Regions from separate parts of the Homo sapiens genome. Here region 1 is linked to region 2. The links are contacts of gene promoters, found by promoter capture Hi-C in human tissues and cell types (Jung and others, 2019). All regions are on one chromosome and are shown on one strand. The core of a region is centred on a gene start or on the middle of the fragment in contact, and the rest is flanking DNA. Distances in the headings are between cores, read along the strand shown. Region 1 overlaps PXDC1 (PX domain containing 1). Region 2 holds the start of TUBB2A (tubulin beta 2A class IIa).

The links. The method cuts DNA at HindIII sites, captures the fragments that hold promoters and counts their contacts. A contact is called where the count stands out against the background at its distance.
Region 1: a fragment that was not itself captured here is called in contact with the fragment with the promoter of TUBB2A in region 2 in 1 of the 25 tissues and cell types used here (dorsolateral prefrontal cortex).

Annotation. Positions count from the first base shown.
Region 1 is chr6:3,722,138-3,728,824 of GRCh38, forward strand. It overlaps PXDC1 (PX domain containing 1), which reads right to left. Exons shown (of 5, transcript NM_183373.4): 4 at 5,414-5,525; 5 at 482-1,599. The coding sequence ends at 1,482. Among named protein-coding and RNA genes, the nearest start is that of PXDC1, 26 kb to the right of the region's middle. RefSeq lists an enhancer at 1,838-2,376. The HindIII fragment of the contact is 7,395 bases long and covers 1,605-6,687 here.
Region 2 is chr6:3,155,733-3,162,540 of GRCh38, forward strand. It overlaps TUBB2A (tubulin beta 2A class IIa), which reads right to left and starts at 1,812. Exons shown (of 4, transcript NM_001069.3): 1 at 1,675-1,812; 2 at 312-420; 3 at 1-3. The coding sequence starts at 1,731. LOC105374889 (a long non-coding RNA gene) reads left to right here and starts at 1,969. Exons shown (of 2, transcript XR_926395.3): 1 at 1,969-2,021; 2 at 2,700-3,704. RefSeq lists a silencer at 1,694-2,153 and cis regulatory regions at 4,416-5,010, 6,782-6,808. The HindIII fragment of the contact is 12,624 bases long and covers 1-6,808 here.

The DNA of each region.
Region 1 (6,687 bases), core at 4,052-6,551, 570 kb after region 2:
CTTAGCTACTAAGCAGGAAGCCTCATCCTTGCACAGAACTGAATTTGATGTGTCAAGAAAAGAAAGGCAACCGGTCAACCCCGGAGTGAGCCACCTACTAGCCTATTTGAAATTGAGATGCTTTAAACAACACAGCTGGAAGGCAGAGGGAAATGCAAAACCAAAGGAAAGTCCATGTGCTTTGCAGCTGGGTCATCAAAGAGAATTCCTGTGGCTGCCAAAAAGAAAAATGGAGGAAAAGAAAAAAGCCTAAGTCAACCCCCGTCTCCCTCCAAAATAAAACAAGCAGTGTGTCCATTTTTCAATCTGGGCAGACCACTTCCCTAGGGTAAGAACATAACACACTTTGTCACTCACGGAATGTGACAGGAAGAGGGGGAGGGACCAGGCCCCAGGAGTCAGTTTTAGTTTCCACCCTGTCCCAAGGCAGGGGACAGAAAGAACCACGCCTTTATACACAAACATCCTGGACAGATCAAAGTAGAGTCATAGATTTTATTTAATTAAAATAGATTAAAAACAGACTGTGTAAAAGAATTAGAATTCTCAATAATTTACTATTATTTACATTAGCAAATGTCGGTCGTTAGTAGACACTGAGCAGAGAAGCTTGAAGAACGGGGATCCTCTCCTGTGGGCAGGGGAGCCCCAGCTTCCCTCGTGATTCCCGTCCTTTCAAGTTCATTATGGCAGCTCTGTCAATGAGCACCCCAGGGTGGTGTGGCCGCAGCACCAGGACCCGCGCTGAAGGCCCAGAGACCTGGCAGGCCGGGAAGAAATTCCTTTCCTTTGGGAAGAACCACCAACGCTCAGTCCAAGCTCACACGGTTATCTAGTCGGCAATGCCTTCCCTGCCCTGCAGCCAATACCCCCCACTGTGCTGGGCCTTCTGCAAATACTCCTGGGGTTGACCCAAACCCAGTTTCCAGATAAAAGATAAAAAGAAAAAAAAAAAGGCCACATATCCCAGTTCTCAGAGAAATCCTGGATTACTAAACATCCCCTGCCTGTGGCACCTGGAATGGGTGACTTGTCAAAATCTCCCTCAAGACGTTTTGTGCGTTTGCCGTGGGAGGGAATGGTGGGGAGTCAGGGTGGCTGGGGGGCACTAGGCCACTTCACCAAGAGGGATGCACCTCCCAGGAAGCAGTAGCAGTGAGAGCGAGCCCCACAGGAACTGTCCCTGCCCTGGCAGTGCGCAGCCCTGTGGGCACCAAGCAGGGAGTGAAGACCCTCAGAACACAGGCCCTGTGGCCTCCGGCTGTGACCTCAGCTTGCTGGAGACTCTGCGGTCAGCCTGGCCCACTAGGAGCCCCTGCTGCTCCACTTGCAGGACACCCAGGCCTCCTGGCGTCAGTGGGGCCTGGGACGTCTGGGAGTTCCAGAGCTGGGGCAGCAGCTGTGACCATGGGGGCCAGCACAGTGGACAGCATCAGAGCTGGCAGTGAACAGCTGAGGCGGGGGAGGCCTGATAGAGAGGTTCAGTCCCAAATGTCTGTCTCGAAGGGGACCAGGTGGTAATATGACAGGTTGGTGACGTAGGCTGCTGGGTCGTCCCCGTCCTCCAGCTCTGAGGGAAACTCACTGCCATTCTCAAATCTGAAATTAGAGAAACCAGAGGTGAGGGGTGGCTCATTGTTGGGATCAACACCAAACACCCGCCGGGACCATGAGCATGACTTTCAATGCCCGCTAGTAAGTGTGCAAAAAAACCACGGCTACAAATGAACTGGTGAGCTGGCTCCTGCTCTGAGACTGCCAGAGCTTCTGGTTTCCACTGCCTTGGAGACTGCTGTCTGCATTTGCTTAGACAACCCTTAGCGAGGCCTTCATCCATTCCTTCATTCATGGAGTGCTGATTTTCACCTCTTGTTCTGTGCCCAGCACCGCGTCAGGCTGTGGGATCAGCAGTGAACAAGGCAGGCAGGGTCTGTCCTCAGGGAAGAGGCGCCTGCCTCGTGCTGGGCCCTGGGGACAGCTGAGAGAGGAGTGGTCACGAGCTCACAGCCTGACCGCAGCAGAGATGACACACGGACGCACAGGAGGCTGCGAGGGAACAGGAGGCTGGAGAAGAGCCGGCGAGGCCCGTGGAGGTCACGGGGGGAGACACCTTCTAGCGGGGAAGCCTGCATGTGGGTACGTGTTTCATTCGCGCTCTGGCAGATGAGAAGCATCCGAACATGGGGGACTTACATGGGGTGTGGAGAACTAGGGAAGAATACAAACCCCAAACATAAGGGGACGTAAAAGCCCGCGATACTGACTCCCCACACACTGGAACTGTTTCTACTCCCTCTGCAGCCCAGGCAGACTTCCTACGTTAAGAAAAGAGACTCCAGGTCTTTAAAAATGCGTAACAGAGAAAAGCACAAGAAGGACATTCTCCCCAGGAAGGGGGACAGAGCTGTACGGCTCGTGGGATTTTCCTCCACCTATGAATCAGCCCAAACCCAGCAGGCCGCGTGGGAGTGTGGACAGAGGCAAGCAGCTGCCCCGCCCTCCTGGGAGCCACCTCGGGGCTGCCTCCTGTGCCGCCCCCAGTGACTGAAGGTGGCCCTGGCCCGTGGACAACTGTGGGAACTCAGCCATCTCTGGAAAGCTTTGCCATGACCAAGATGACTGCACAGTCCAGGCCCCTGGCCGGACACACAACAAGGCAGGGCGAGCATATGTCCCCCACAAACCTAGTACATCGTGCGAATCCCGCTGACCTCAAGGGACAGGGCTGTGAAGACAGCTTTAAGGCATTTGGATAAGAAAGGCTGAGGCTGCAGAGGAAGGCCTCCCCTCTGACTCCATGGCCAGGCCTGGAGTGTGGTGTCAGCCCCCGCCTCGGCTTCCCTATGCTCACGGTCCTGGCAACACGAGGCTGGGACAGAGGCCGCGGCACAAAGAGCCCTAGCTGTGGGTGGGAAAGCTATGGGGGGCTCACGGAGACAGAGCAGCTCTCCAACTTCATCCAGGGAATGAAATCTCTTCCCCAGACCAGGGCTGGATGGAAACCCAAGGGGGAACCTTGGGCGTGCCGAAAGGTTCAAGCCAGTCGAGGGACAGAGCCACAGCGCCACCTCAAACAGTGTCCCACCACCTGCCCGTCCTCCCTGCCCAGATCACAGGATGACCCTGAGGACATGAGGAGGGAGGGGGACCGGGATGCTCAGGGAAAATGAGTCATGGGGCTAAGGCTCCCTGAGGTCCCCACAGAACCGCCCAGTGCCTCGGCCCTGGATGACCTCCCAGAAGCCAGGCAATCCCTTCGCCAGCTGAGACTGTCACCTGCAGAGCCCCAGAAGTCCCCACTGGCCCCATCTCTATCAGATACATCCATTCCCTGAGTGCAGGTGGGTCTCTGGGCCCTGGCACTGGTGCCCACTTGCCCCTGGGGCCAGACTCGGGGCAGCCTGCTGAGACTCTGCTGTGGGGGCCCTGCTGTGGGCCCGGCGGCACTGGGCTCACAGGCTCGGGCCAGACAATCAGCCTCGGGTGCCAGGGAGGACAGCCACGCAGGGAGGTGAAGCCTCCAGTTCCACAAAGGGTGTCTGTGCTCTTGGTCGCTGTCAACCCCCCACCCGACAGCCGGTGCCGTGTAGAAACAGATCGTCCCTGTGAGACACTGGAGCTGGACCATCGACTCCACTGCACTGCCCGAGATTGAGGAGCCAGAGAAAGGCCCGGCAAGCCCAAGTCGGAACTCCCTCCAGATGCTCCCGAGCCCCATGGCGGCAGGCGTTTCTTTGTTAGGCTTTTCTGGGGTCATGGAGATTTTCTCGGCCCTCTCTGTGAGCCAGGCATCCCGGAGCAGGTGGCCGCCTATTCAAGACCTGTCACTCCTGTGCACATGCAGTCAGTCCCGGGCAGCTGCAAGAGCCACACCTCTGGCCCGGCTTTCTTCCCTCCGTGTGTTTCTCCTCAGCTCCAGCCTGCTCACAGTTGAACCTGCCTCCTAAATCTGGCCTCATTCCAGGGTGCCAAGGGCCTCTTGGATATAGAAAGGGGTCCCCTTGCAAACACTGCAGACTCAGAGCCTGCACAACTGGTGATGAGGAAGGGTCTCCATCTGTCTTCTCCCCAAGACAGTGCCTGGCCAGTAACTACCCCTGCCAAGCTAAAGGGCCTCTTTCTTTCATCCATGACTACACTCCAGCCTTGTACCTCCACGGTGCCAGCCTGTTGGCATGGGGGACCCATAGGTAATGAGTGAATGAGCTATGTACAGTGGGGTCAGGGCAAGGGACACAAAAGGGCAAGGCAGGTCAGGAAAGCTGCGGCCTTGGCCCCACCGGCACAGCCTCTGCCACCAGCAGCTCATGACCCCTCTACTGGGAAGGATTCTCGCACCATCTACCCGGGAGACACACTGGTAAAGACGGGGTCTGTTAGCAGGAGCCAGTCCCACAAGCCTGACAGGGACCCCCCCATGCTCAGTCATGGAGCAGGGATTCAGCAGAGGAGGCCCAGGCCGCCGGCTGGGGCCCAGGTTCACGCTGGGGTCACAGCCCTGCCGCCCACAGGCCCGGATGTGGGCCTCGGCACATGTGGCCGGCTCTAGTTTCAATCTGCTGCTATGGAGGGCTAGCAAATGCGTGGGGCAAGACCCGGGCCATCCCCAGGCTATGTCATTCCTGGGCCCACAGGGAGACTCTGCATCCAGAGCTGCCTCTGTGGGACTCTCAAGCGGGATGTTTTACACTCACCATCTGTGGTCTTCAACACAACCCGTGGTGGGACAGCAGAATGGTCCCGTGAAGGTAAGAGAAGTCAGGAAAGGTTAAATAACTTTCTGAGCTCATACAGCCAAGGAGCAGTCTGGATTTGGCTGTGTCAGGAAACAGAGGCCAAGCTGTCTGGGGACCCTGGTGCCCCCAGAATTCACCAAGAAGATGCCTGGAGGAGAGCCAAGGCTGAAGATGCTGCCGACCCCAGTGCCGGGCTCTCTAGAGCATGTGTTACAGTCAAATCAGAGACAGAAAGAGCGGAGAAGACAGTGGTGGCTTTGGCTGTCCAGCCTCAGTAATCAGATACATCCTACACCTTCAGCACAGGGCCAGGCAGCCTTGAGGCAAACATGTCCCCATCTCAGGGAATCAGGACCATTGAGTGTGAGGCATGTGGCCCTCCTGGCCCTGGAGACAGCATCACACCCCTCAGGGCCCCACACGAACCAGGCCCCTAGCCCTGCAACGTCTCCTAAATGCCCCTCAGAGCCAGCAACTCCATCTTCCACAGATTCACTCATCAAGATCTCACCAGACTCTAGGAAAGGCAAACTTCTAAAATCAGTGTCCAAATGCAGGTAGGAACTGCTGGGTGGCTCTGGGCACCCACTTCCTTCCATAAGAACAGTGAGCCCCCATCCCACAAGGCAAATGGCTCAGGACAGTCTATGAAACGATATTCAAATCAGCATACTTACAAATGCTCTGTTGGGTCCACGCCCAGCTGCTGGTCTCTTCCATTTGGTATACTGTGGTCAATAACTATTGTTTCGGTATTTGCTAAACAAAATCCATTGGACCTCATGATTTCTGAAAACCAAAGCAACAAGGTGAGTCCTCAGGAGGGGTCGGAGCTTGAGGTTTTGGAGTTTGGAACTTACTCCCATCTCCCTGCTTTCTCCTCCACCTGTTGCCCGTGCCTCTCTTCCACACCGTAAGAGAATGCCGTGCACCCGAGACCCATTCAGAGCTCTGCCGCACAAAGTCAGGGAAGAGGTCAATCCCCGCAGGAGCCAGGCCTGCTGTGTGTCTCTCCCAAGACAAAGATGCTCTGCTGCCTGAGTACGCTCTCCATATGCCCTTCGCTGTGGGCTTCAAGCTGGAGTACAAAGAAGGAGTACTGGGCTCAAATCTGTGAGTCTGCGTGTGAGAGCAGAGCTATGGCACAGTGACATGTGGCTCTGCCCAGGGTACCTCTCCTTGCTGAGCTCTCACTGTGGCTGAGACATGAGTAACAATATTGACTGCCCTGGGTTGTTGTTCTGACTGAATGAAATCAGTGTGCATTTTATTCTTATTTCAATAGTTTTGGGGTTACAGGTGGGTCTTGGTTACACGGATAAGTTCTTTAGCGGTGATTTCTGAGATTTTGGTGGATCCATCACCCAAGCAGGGTACACTATACCCAGTAAGTAGTCTTTTATCCCTCACCCCACGAACCCAAAGTCCATGATATCATTCTTATGCCTTCGCATCCTCATAGCTTAGCTCCCACTTCTAAGTGAGAATATACAATATTGGTTGCCCATTCCTGAGTTACTTCTCAGTGTGCATTTTAAACCAAAGGGTGACTTTCACTGTTTCGCTTTATGTAATTCTGTATGTAAATGATTTTTTTCCCAAATAAGCACAGATTCGGGTAATTTAGAAAAGCCAGCAAAGAAAAACGACTTCCTACGTCCATACTGGCTGCATGGCATGAGCTAGAGGGTGGAAGTCTGCGCTCGTCCTTGGCTGGAGGGGCTGGAATGGAGGATGAGGAGCCAGGACAACGAGCTCCATGGCCTTGGGACTCAGTTTCCTCCAATGAAAAATTTCAAAGTTGTATTAATCTCTGAGGATCCTTCTCACTCTGAAATCCCATGAACTCCTGGATCGCATCATGCCATCTGGTCCATCTAGGTATAAAAAGCTGCAGCGTTCGTTTGTATTTTCTGAGGGACCGCGTTTCCGTCCCCTCGCTCAGCAGATG
Region 2 (6,808 bases), core at 562-3,061:
TACCTGCAGGAAATAAGAACTGACTCAGGCCTGTGCTTGGGGAGGGACTCACAGCAGCATTCAATTCCAGCATCTGAGACAAAAGGAGAACAGGAGATTTTCTGCTTTTAAGAAAAAGGAGGTCCTGAGTGTGCTTAGCCGTGGCAAACAGGCAGGAATCTTAGGAAACCATAAAACATGTTTTTCCAGCAGTTGGCATTTGAAATGAATATGCAAGAAGCATGCCTTTGTCACGTGCATGTTCCTGGGACGTTTCATCTCCCACATCATGGAAAGCAAGGATTCCTGGGCACACACATCCCGCTACTCACCAGCAGCCTCATTGTAGTACACGTTGATTCTCTCCAGCTGCAAGTCACTGTCTCCATGGTAACTGCCTGTGGGGTCGATCCCATGCTCATCGCTGATGACCTCCCAAAACTGAAATGAAAAAAGAACCACACCATGGCTCTGCATCCTGAATGTCACTAAGGATGGCCTTGTCCTCCTCCCATGTCCTTGGAACAGGGGCTTTTGTGGTCAGACAGTTAGTAAGTGCTAGACAGAGAGCAAAGAGCTGCACCCCCTATTTCCTGCAGCAGCCGCTGCTGAGGGGCTTGAAAATCCGCAGAGCATCGGCCATATTATGGGGATAGACTGAAAGGCTGGGAGGGGCCCTGGAGGAGGAGGGGACACAGCAGATGCCCTTCTAGGGAGAGGGTGGGGAGAGTAGAGAAGTGGAGAAGGGGTACAGGGAGGCTGTGTCACCCCAGGCAGGGCTGAATGCCATTGCATCCGGGATGATTGATGGGTCGTGGCAGGCCAAGGACAGGGGGACCCACTCTGTGGCTGCCTCCAGGGATCAAGCTCTCTTGGCACAGATCCCAGGCACTCCTGCAACAGTGCAGGTTTAAGCCACCGATCTACATGCTGGCACTGACCACCGGAGGGACTGGGCGAAGGGCAGCAGGAGCCTGGGAGGGCACCTGGGCGGCAGTGGAAGGAGCTGGCCATCGTGAGGGCGCTGGCTGCATTGTGAATTTGCGGCGGGGAGGCTGGGTGGGCAACATGGCGGTTCTCAAAGAGACCACGTCCTTGTACTGGCGCCCGCCCCCACCCATGCACCAGACCCGCTGCTGCCTCCCACACAGCGGTCGGTAATTGCAGCCCCCACCCAGCGCAGTCACCTGCCGCCTCGGGGACTGGCAGCAAGACTATCGCGTTGTATGTCATCATGTCAAGACAGTGCCCGAGCAAGGGAATTTATCTAACACCCTTGCCTGTACGACCCAAAGGGACGCCTCTGTTACATCTGCCAGTCCAGTGACACTGCATGTTTTCATTCAAACCGTAGAGAAAAATATACAAATTAAATTCACATGAAGCTAGCGCAATAAATATGACCGTACCCCCGACCCAAGTTTCTGAGACAAATACACCCAGGGGAATGCCAACCGCGTCCCGCAGAAGGGCTGTGTCCCAGGGAAATCGAAAGGCCCCCGATTAAACGCACACACAGCTGCGGCGCTGCGGGCATCCTGGCGGGTCATGCAGCCTCCCGGACCCCGCCCGGCGGCCTCGCCGCGGAATGTGCCACCCGGCCAGCCCGGGGCCGCCGCGGCCTCCAGCCCCCGCCCCGGCCCCAGCCCGCACCCTCGGTCCCAACCCCGGGCCCCTCCGTGGCGGTGAGCCCACCTTGGCGCCGATCTGGTTGCCGCACTGGCCCGCCTGGATGTGCACGATCTCGCGCATGGTGCCGGCTGCGGAGCGGGTGGCGCTGGCCCTCGGAGCGGTGCGCGGCGTGGACCGGCGGGCTGGGCTGCGCAGAGACCTGCCGCCGCCCCCCCAGCTCGGTCTTTTATACCCGGGGACCCGCCCTGCCCGGTGACGTCATGACGGGCGGGGCTGTGGCCGCGGGGGCGGTGCGGCTGGGACTGCGGCACCGCGAGGGGGAGCCGGGGCGCGGTGCGAGGTGTGGGGGCGCTCGCCCTATTGCTGCTGCCGCTGGGTCTAGGGTGGGCGGCCGGCCTCGCGGTCCGGCGGTGAGTGCGGTGCCCGGGCCTCGGGCCCAGCCGCAGCCCCCTGCCCGATCCACGGGCACGGGCGACCCCTGGCGCTGGGTCCTCCGCTCACGCCGCGATCCCCACCCCGAGCCGCCCACTCTGGACCCCCGAGGGGGGCTGGGGACCGGGGGCCCCGGAACCAGGGGGAGGGGCTGCCTCGGAACAGGGTCCTCGCCTCCTAAGGACGGGAAGAGGCGTCGAGTACCCTTTGGAGTAGGGGGCCGGAAATTGAAGACCCATTTGCAGTGGGCTCTCCAGCGGGTGGCAAAGGTTTCCCGCATCCTGGGCAGGGTCCTGGACGCCGTTTGTGGGGGTGGGGTGGGCAGCGTGGAGAGGAGTGGGGGGCCGCGGGGAGCCGACGGGCAGCTGCCTGAAAGGAATGCCAGGATGGCGGGGTGGGCGGCCTTTCGCCCCTGCAGGGGAGGAAGATGGCTTGGTCGGGGGCGGGGGTTGGGGGGGCTATCAAAGGGCTGGATTTGTCACATGTCCGCTTTGGGCTCCTGCGTCCTTGTAAAGGCCTTTTAAATGTGGAAAATTCTGCGGGTGTGTGTGTGTGTGTGTGTGTGTGTGTGTGTGTGTGTCAGAGAGGAAAGACAGGAGGAATATATCTGCCACGTTGATGTGTCAGCTGATGGCCCTGCCCCTTACACCCCTTAGGTCGCCTGATCCTCACAGAAGCTGTCGGAGCTAGGCTGGCCAGTTCGGTAGACCCTAGGCACGGTGGCTGCCGAGCATTGAAACGTAGGTAATCTGAACTGAGATGGGCTGTTAAGTGTGAAGAACACACTGGCTTTTATGGGCTCAGTAAGTTAAAATAATGTGAAATATTTCATTACTGATTCTTAAATATTGATGGTCTATCAAAATAATAGTGTTTTGGATACATTGTGTTAAATGACTTGTTTTGAAATTAGAAAATGTAAAATTACATACTTGGTTTCCATTTGCTGCTCACTTACGCATATTTTTGTTGACTACCACCGGCTTCTGGTAAGCATTATTACTACCCCAATTTCATAGCTCCGAAAGCGAGGTTGAAAGACCTGACCAGCCACAAAGCTAGGAAGGGAAGGAATCTAAAGCCTTTGTATAAATAAAAAGCCCAGGTGAGTTTTAAAGGCTTGGGTGGGCTGTGGTAAGGACCTGACTTAATTATTCACAAAGATGGCCCTGCACGGTGGACTAGGTAACAGGGGCTTGGGGACTGCCTTTGGTTCCCAGCACATTCCAACTATATAATGATGATAATTACAGGTGCCTTGGAGCTGGCTTTGTGGTAGGAGATGAGAAGCCATATATGAAAGCACATTGAGTTTATGGAGTAAAAATGCCTTGGTAAAACCCAAGGTGATGGGCTGGGCGCGGTGGCTCACGCCTGTAATCCCAGCACTTTGGGAGGCTTAGGCGGGTGGATCACGAGGTCAGGAGATCGAGACCATCCTGGCTAACACGGTGAAACCCCGTCTCTACTAAAAATACAAAAAAATTAGCCGAGCCTGGTGGCAGGCATCTATAGTCCCAGCTACTCGGGAGGCTGAGGCAGGAGAATGGCGTGAACCCGGGAGGCGGAGCTTGCAGTGAGCCGAGATGGCGCCACTGCACTCCAGCCCAGGCGACAGAGCCAGACTGCGTCTCAATAAAAAACAACAACAAAAAACCCAAGATGATGCTGTCATTCCTAATGTGCACCCTACCTGCCACCTCAATAGTTGGTCTGTATCGGAGGTGGAAACTAAAGCCAGATGTCTGTGAGTAGCCTCTTAGGCCAAGTTAGGTCTTAATCACCCCAGCTTTAGGAAGCGCCCAGCATCCTCCCAGATGTAGGTAGGCAGGTGCCTAGTGCCTCTTCTCAGGGTGGGGACAGATTTCCTAGAATTTCTCCTCCTCTCTCCCCTCTCCCTGCTGCTGGGCCCCCAGTGGACAACCTGTCCCTCGGATGCTACTCCCAGGTACCCAGGGCTTGACCTCCACCTTCTCCCCACCCCCACCCCAACTCTCACATCTTGGCTCTTCACCACAGCCGGAGCCTTCCAGATCCTCTCCAGAGAATGGCTCTCCTTGGGGTACCTTCACTCATTACACAGTTCTGAAAAGATTTTTCCAGAGATAATTGCTTCTTGGCCTTTGTGTTTTAATTCAGCGTGAAATCTGAGGCCAAATAGGAGCAGAGGATGAGACCTGAAAGGGACAGCACTAGGGACACGGGGACCCCTAGCAGCTGGGCGTTTCCCGGCCTGTGGAGCATGTGCCCACTCTGCTGTTCCTAGCTCAGTCCTCCAGCAAGTCACTGCACCTCTCTGAGCTTCTCTGGAAATGGGTTTTTCTTACGTTGGGGAGCTGGGAGGCACTGTGCGTGAACTGGACATTAGTGAGCGCACAGAAAATAAATCCATGGCAGTGTTCACGGGCGCAGGCCAGGTACCTGATTGTCTGCTCTGGATCGCTGGCAGTGAATGTTCTGCCCAAGTCGGCCTTCTCCTGCCTGGCAGTTCACGCCCAGCCTACTTCTCTCTGACGCGCTCCTCCCTCGGTGCCGCCCGTGATGTGTGTTAGTATATAATCAGAGAAACTCACACGCGGAGTTTTAAATAATGCCTGCCCTGCCTAAGGTGACTCATCTGAGGCCGTGAGTTCCTGCTCTCCCCTCCCTCGCGGCAAGTGTAGATATCCCCAACCCCACCTCGCTGTCACTAAGCAACTCGACCTTGTACAGCACCGATGCAGATAATAACAGGAGGAAATAGAGCCTGCTAATTGTCCCCTTCCCTAGAATAGGTTTTTAAGGAGCAATCTCTCCCCTTTCATGTATTTTTCAGTGTCTAAAGAGGAGCAGCTCCACCGGCTGTTGGGTGGGCCGGGGATGGGGAAGGGGAAGAGGACCAACCTCCTCCAGCCTCAAGTCACTTCCTGCTTTAGACAGGATGCCACTCGCAGTGTCTGAGCCACCCCTACCCTGAAGGCATCATTGGCGGGGTGAGGGGCGGGGGGCGGGGAAGGGCAGGTGTAATGACAAAATTCAGACTAGAGAATGTGTTCCAGGTAGGAGGCTGAGCCACATCTGTCTTTCACAAAAGGACATAAGCTCTTACCCTTTTGCCTGCCCTTCCCGCCTGCTGCTTCAGAGGGCCCAACGAGAAGGGTCCTGGTGAGAATGTTCTAGTGAAACGTACCCTGTGAATATGTGGTGTTATGATGATATCGTTACTGTTCACTGATGCCATCTCTAAGGGTGACAGTCGTGATCTAGTTGAAATAGATTTAGTTGGTCCAAGTAAGAGAGTCCTGGAACTTCAAAAACACTAGTTTCCTCTGCAGAATGATGAAAACCCAAGGACCATCCCAGCAATACAATTGTCTAAATTTGTATGGTACAGTCTTGCATCCTGTTTGTGCCCTCAGAGAACTAGCCACACTCTCCGCTCCAACTTCTCTTTCCCATGAAACTCATCCAGTGCAGCCCCTGTCTGCTATTTTTTAAATAAAAGCATCTCTTTATGAAGATGGAAGAATTTTGTTCAAAGCATTTAAGGGGATGTAACCTTTTCAAAAGGTTACCTAAAATAAAAGTCTGAACTCCAATTAAATTTAATTTTAAAATATCAACCCCACCAAAGTTTACAATTTTTTTTTTTTTTTGCATCAGATGACTATAATAATACAGAGTAAATATATAGAAGATTTTTAGCCACTTTCTGGAATGGGCCATGCCCCAGAATGTGACATTCATATTACAAGTGTCGATCTGGGGCCTTTCAAAACTGAAGATGTCATTTTTTGTTTTTTTTTGAAATGGAGTCTCGACTAGGCTGGAGTGCAGTGGCATGATCTTCGCTCATTGCAACCTCTGCCTCCCAGGCTCAAGCGATCCTCTCGCTTTAGCCTGCCGAGTACCTGGGATTACAGGCGTGCACCACCATGCCTGATTAATTTTTGTATTTTTAGTAGAGGCAGCGTTTCACCATGTTGGCCAGGCTGGTCTCAAAGATGTTATTCTTGATGTCAAATTCTCATTAAGCTATAACCCCCCAAGTTTTTTTTAAATACATACAATGTACACAGCAATTATATATACATATATCTTATATACATATTTCCTGATTATAAAATTAGAAACACTTAGAAAGTACTAAAGAGCACAAGTGTATCCCCTGTTCTCGAGATTTTTTTAAATGCTTGATGTATTATATTCCTTTGTGTTTTTCCTATTCATGGGCTGTTTAGGTGTTTTTGTTCCTTTATAACTTTTTTTTTTTTGCCTTCAACATTAAGAGTGAAGAAATACTATATCTTCTTCTGCTATGACTTAGACATAATCTCACAAATTCTCAAAAATATGTAACCTACTCCCAACTGTCATTCTCCCCATAATCTGAGGTGTCCAGAGCATACCGAATTATCTACAGAGCAAACTCATCTCTGCTTCCCATGACTAAGGCCGTTTAGAGGACTCAGTGCCCTCCTGCCGCGTTCCCTGACTGTTGAAAAGCACAGGGCCTAGAGTTGATGGACTGGGTGCAAATCCTCACTGTCACTTCTTAGCTGTGTGACCTCGGCAAGTTACTTAACCTCTCTCTGCCTTAGTTGCCTCATCTGTAAAGTGACAGTAATAATAGTACCCGCTTCCTGGGGTTGTGATAAAGACTGAATGAATATGTGAAAGCACTCACAATACCACCTGCCCCACAGTGTTATATAAATATTAGCTATTATAACGGGTTAATCCCGTCCTCCCCCCACTCCCTCCCTCCCTCCCTTTTTTTCTCCCT